2 separate regions of the Homo sapiens genome follow, and region 1 is linked to region 2. The links are contacts of gene promoters, found by promoter capture Hi-C in blood cells and fetal thymus (Javierre and others, 2016). All regions are on one chromosome and are shown on one strand. Each heading gives the region's core, a stretch centred on a gene start or on the middle of the fragment in contact. The rest is flanking DNA. Distances are from core to core; before and after follow the strand shown. Region 1 overlaps LOC105375566 (a long non-coding RNA gene). Region 2 holds the start of RARRES2 (retinoic acid receptor responder 2).

The links. Contacts are between HindIII fragments. The CHiCAGO score rates a contact against its expected background, and 5 or more counts as called.
Region 1: a contact is called between a fragment that was not itself captured here and the fragment with the promoter of RARRES2 in region 2, in 9 of 17 cell types (non-activated CD4 T cells, activated CD4 T cells, naive CD8 T cells and 6 more). The highest score is 16.0, in non-activated CD4 T cells.

Annotation. Positions count from the first base shown.
Region 1 is chr7:150,772,111-150,774,810 of GRCh38, reverse strand. The region is part of intron 2 of LOC105375566 (a long non-coding RNA gene); the gene reads left to right. Among named protein-coding and RNA genes, the nearest start is that of TMEM176B, 27 kb to the left of the region's middle. The HindIII fragment of the contact is 1,816 bases long and covers 441-2,256 here.
Region 2 is chr7:150,340,245-150,342,944 of GRCh38, reverse strand. RARRES2 (retinoic acid receptor responder 2) reads left to right here and starts at 1,316. Exons shown (of 6, transcript NM_002889.4): 1 at 1,316-1,367; 2 at 2,316-2,509. The coding sequence starts at 2,336. LOC107986858 (a long non-coding RNA gene) reads right to left here and starts at 1,100. Exons shown (of 3, transcript XR_001745420.3): 1 at 608-1,100. RefSeq lists a silencer at 2,208-2,277. The HindIII fragment of the contact is 3,952 bases long and covers 96-2,700 here.

The DNA.
Region 1 (2,700 bases), core at 99-2,598, 430 kb before region 2:
CCATCAGCAGTGTATAAGCATTCCCTTTTCTTAACAACCTCAAGCATCTGTTACTTTTTGATTTTTTTTTTTTTTTTTTTTTTTTGGTGAGATGGAGTCTCCCACTGTCACCCGGAGTGGAGTGCAGTGGCGCGATCTTGGCTCACTGCAACCTTCGCCTCCCAGGTTCAAACGATTCTCCTGCCTCAGCCTCCCAAGTAGCTGGGATTATAGGCATCTGCCACCATGCCCAGCTGATTTTTTGTATTTTTAGTAGAGATGGGGTTTCACTATGTTGGCCAGGCTGGTCTCAAACTCCTGACCTCATGATCTACCCCCCTCGGCCTCCCAAACTTTTTGACTTTTAATGATAGCCATTCTGACTGGTGTGAGATGGTATCTCATTGTGGGTTTGATTTGCATTTCTCTAATGATTAGTAATGTTCATTTTTTCATAAGCTTGTTGGCCATGTATATGACTTCTTTTGAGAAGTGTCTGTTCATGTCCTTTGCCCATTTTTAAAAGGGTTTTTGCTTGTTAATTTGTTTAAGTTCCTTATAGGTTCTGGTTATTAGACCTTTGTTGGACACATAGTTTGCAAATATTTTCTCTCATTCTGTAGGTTGTTTGTTTACTGTGTTGGTAGTTTCTTTTGCTGTGCAGAGGCTCTTTAGTTTAATTAGGTCCCATTTGTCAATTTTTGTTTTTGTTGCAATTGCTTTTGTTATCTTTGTCATGAAATCTTTGGCAGGGCCTATGTCTAGAATGGTATTCCCTAGGTTTTCTTTTAGGATTTTGTAGTTTTGGTTTTACATTTAAGTCTTCAATCCACCTTGAGTTGATTTTTGTATATGGTGAAATGAAGAGGTCCGGTTTCAATCTTCTGCATATGGGTAGCCAGTTATCCCAGCACCATTTATTGACTAGGATGTCTTTTCCCCATTACTTGTTTCTGTTGACTTTGTTGAAGATCAGATGGTTGTAGGTGTGTGGCTTTATTTCTGGGCTCTCTATTCTGTTCCATTGGTCTATATGTCTGTTTCTGTACCACACCGTGCTGTTTTTTGTTACTGTAGCTCTCTAGGAAAGTTTGAAGTCAGGTAATGTAATGCCTCCAGCTTTGTTCTTTTTGCTTAGGATTGCTTTGACTATTTGGGCTCTTTCTTGGATCCATATGAATTTTAGAATTGTTTCTTCTAATTCTTTAAAAAGGTAATTTGTAGTGTGATAGGAATAGCATTGAATCTGTAAATTGATTTGGGCAGTATGGCCATTTTAACAATATTGATTCTTCCTATCTATGAGCATGAAATGTTTTTTCATCTGTTTGTGTCATCTCTAAATTCTTTGAGCATTGTTTTGTAATTCTCATTGTAGAGATCTTTCGCCTCACTGGGGTTGAGAATTACAAAACTCTCCTTGGTTAGGGAGGTGAAAGATATTTTACTGAAAGAGATTTGAAAATGCCTAGGTATTTTATTTTTTTCTGTGTGCGTGGCTATTACGAATGGGCTTGCATTCTTGATTTGACTCTCAGCTTGGACGTTGTTTGTGTATAGAAATGCTACTAATTTTTGTACATTGAGTTTTTATCCTGAAACTTTCTTAAAGTTGTTTGTCTTGAATCTGTAAGAGCTTTTGGGCAGAGACTATGAGGTTTTCTACATATAAAATCATATTGTCTGAAAACAGAGATAGTTTGACTTCCTCTCTTCCTATTTGAATGCTTTTTATTTCTTTCTCTTGCCTGATTGCTCTGGCTAGTACTTCCAGTACCATATTGAATAGGAGTGGTGAGAGTGGTCATCCTTGTCTTATTCCAGTTTTCAGTGGGAGAGAGAGGGAGAATTCAGAGGGAGAGAGAGACAGAGTGGGAGAGAGAGAATCATATTTAAAGTGTACGATTTAATAAGTTTTGACACATATCCATTGGCCCCCCCCAAAATATCCTCATGACCCTTGTCAGTCCTTCCTCCTGACACTTCTCACCCCCATCCCCGGGCAGCCACTGACTTGCTTTTTGTCACTATAGAATAGTGAGCATTTTCTAGAGTAAGTGGAATCACACCATATATACTATATGTACTCCTTTTGTTTGACTTTTTCCACTGAGCATAATAATTTTGAGGTTCACCCATGTTGTGTGAATCAGTAGCTCATATCTTTTTATTGAGAAGTCATATTCCATTGTATAGATATGCTACAGTTAGTTTATCCATTCACCTGTTGATAGATATTTTGTTTATTCCCAACTTTTGCCTATTGCAGATAAAGCTTTATGAATGATCAGGTATAAGACATTTATGAACACATGATTTCTTTTCTCTTAGGAATATACCTAGGAGTGGAATGCCTGAGTCATATTATGGGTGTGTAAGATTACTTTTTAAGAAACTGGCCAATTGTTTTCTAAAGTCATTGCACCACTTTTTTTTTTTTTTTGAGATGCAGTTTTGCTCTTGTTGCCCAGGCTGGAGTGTACTGGTGTGATCTCAGCTCACTGCAACCTCCGCCTCCTGGGTTCAAGCAATTCTCCTGCCTCAGTCTCCTGAGAAACTGGGATTATAGGCGCCTGCCACCACACCTGGCTAATTTTTTTTTTTTGTATTTTTAGTGGAGACAGCATTTCGCCATGTTGGCCAGGCTGGTCTTGAACTCCTGGCCTCAGGTGATCTGCCTGTCTTGGCCTCCCAAAGTGCTGGGATTACAGGCGTGAGCCA
Region 2 (2,700 bases), core at 67-2,566:
GTATTTTTTGGGGTGAAATATTTTGGTTTCCTTCAAGTTCTTGGGCTGGGAAACATCTTTGGGTGCATCTTTTCTCTCTAACCCCATCTAAAGCTTTCAGGGAACACGGATCCCATCTCTTTCTGCTTAAGGGCGGCTGAGTAGCTCACAGCTGGGGAGTGAAGTACCCTAAGTAGTGGTGGGATTTCAGACACCTGGAAGTGGTTAATGGAAGCCGAGTTTCTTTCTGGTGCCCCCAGAGCACACTGTAAAGGAAATTCTCAGCTCTAAGTGGAGAATCCTGGTTAGGGGTGCGTAAGTAGGGGACAAAAGCCTTGTGCTCGGCACTGGACATCAGTTGCTTTTCATGTTTCTTCATTTAATCCTCAAAACAACTCCTTAAGACAGAGTTTCTGATCCCCATCTTACAGATAAAGAAACAGAAGTTCAGAGAGAGCCATGAAGTTACATGAGATCCTCTACTTCAGGTGATCCCTGCGGTGTGGGAACCAGAGGCATGGTGTTGGTGGTTACTGACGTGCAAAGTCTCAGAGCTTCTTCATCCTTGCTCCAGCGTACCCAGGAGTCGAGCCGGTATTTGGACAGTTTTCCTTGAGTTTCTGCTCACCTTATGAATTCCATCATGCCGTTCTGCCACACCCGAAGGCTCCCCCACTCCCCATGAGAATCTATCCCACGGAGAATGGGGCACGAGGAATGGTCAGGAAAGGCAGATGCAGGATACACACTGGACATCTTTGCTGTCGATCAAGGTTGCAGGCGCCAGAGTCCTCCCTAAAGGAGAGACCTTCCTTCTCAGTGTGGCTCAGGGAGTGGGAGGCAGGATCAGGTGTAGGGACCTCGAGGTCTCATTTGGTTTGAGAATGTCTGTATTTAGGGGAAGAAATCCCAGGATGAGTGTCTCAGGGACGCTGGGGAATGGTCCCCCGTAAAGGACCCAAGACAGGGCAGCCCTGCCTGGGTAGGAGTGGGGCACAGAAAGTCCTTGGGGGAGCAGAGCAGCGGAGAAGAGGCCCGGGCCGGCCGAGGCTGCGGAATGCTCAGGCCCGAGCCAGAGGGAGGTGGGACCGAGGGCTGCGCGCCTGGGCGAGCCGCCTGCAGCCGCGGCCAGGGTCAGGGTCATGAGGGCTGGATCGAGGGGAAGGAGGGGGGTGGGATGGGGAGGGAGGGCGCGGGAGGGCATCCCGCCCCAGAGGCCGGTCCCACTGGGGAGGGGAGGAGCCAGAGTTGCTGGAGGGGGTCCAGGAGGTGGGGGTGGGAGGAGGTGGGGGCCGCCCCGCGAGAAGAAGAGCGGGAAGAGGCGGACAGCGAGGCCAAGATTTCAGCTGCGGGACGGTCAGGGGAGACCTCCAGGCGCAGGGAAGGACGTGAGGAGGGGAAGCGGGCTGGGGCGGCAGCCGGGCGGAGGGGCAGCTGCGCAGGCGGAATGAGGAACGCCTTTGCTCTAAGGCGACCACCCTGGCAGCTCTTCACTGAGGGGCCTCGGTTTCCACATCTGTCGCTCTCCGGTCCCAAGACCACCAGGACCGACGGGGCTCTCCGGGAGGGTCAGCCCCTCCGGTGGCCCCAGTCATGCATCAGGGGACGGATCAGAAGGGCTAGGAAGAGGGGTCGTGGGGAAGGCCCCAGAAAAAAGAGGAAGGAGGGAAGATTTTGCCTGAAGCGGGAAAGCCAAGGGCTGGGCGGCGCGAGACCCCCATTCCTAGCGACTGGGGCTGGCTGGTGGCCCGCGGCAGCCCCCGCGCCGGGAGGATTAGGCCTCCCGCCGCTCCCACCCGTCCGGACCCTCCCACGTGTTTAGGTCCTCCCAAAAGTATTCGGCCTCCGGCCCCTGCCCCTTCCCCCGGCTGGCCTGGACCTCGGGGACGTGGGGGGAACCCCGTGGGAGCAGGGGGATTCTGGACGGGGAGGGAGTAGCGGTTGGGGAGAAGGCTGAGCGGGGAAAGGAGAGAGGGGCTCCGGGGACGGCAGGGAGGAGAGTGGGTCGTGCCGGAGACCCAGGGAGAGACACAATGGGCAAGATTAGGGGTGTAGGGTGGGAGTGCGAACTGACTGATTCCTAGCGTGGGCAGGGAACTTTGCTAAAACTGCAGGCCCCAGGGAACAGCGCGGGCAGGGTGGGAGGGAACGGAGAGGGCCAGGCGGACCCTAAGGTCAATTTGGAGAAAGGGCCATTTCCAGGCTCCTTCACCTGTGCCCAGCGTTCTACAGGCCTGGACCCCGCCCCCGCTCCCCACCCTCCCCCCAGAGCAGGGCGCGGGAGGAGGCGGCTCGGGCTGGCTCGGAGAGCTGAGGGGCGCACACCCGCTTCGCAGGGCCAGGGTGACACGGAAGCATGCGACGGCTGCTGATCCCTCTGGCCCTGTGGCTGGGTGCGGTGGGCGTGGGCGTCGCCGAGCTCACGGAAGCCCAGCGCCGGGGCCTGCAGGTGGCCCTGGAGGAATTTCACAAGCACCCGCCCGTGCAGTGGGCCTTCCAGGAGACCAGTGTGGAGAGCGCCGTGGACACGGTGAGTAGCATGGCCCGGGCAGGAGCGGGGAGGGTCGTACCCCAGGAGACCAGCGCATTCCCACGAAGGGGGACAGAAGTGCTTGGGCTCTGAGCCCCAGCCCTTTGGAGAAAAGGCCACTGTCCAGCCTGCTGGAATGTGACTGCGTGAGGGAGGTGCGGATCACACCAGGGCTTGCTCTGCACCCTCAG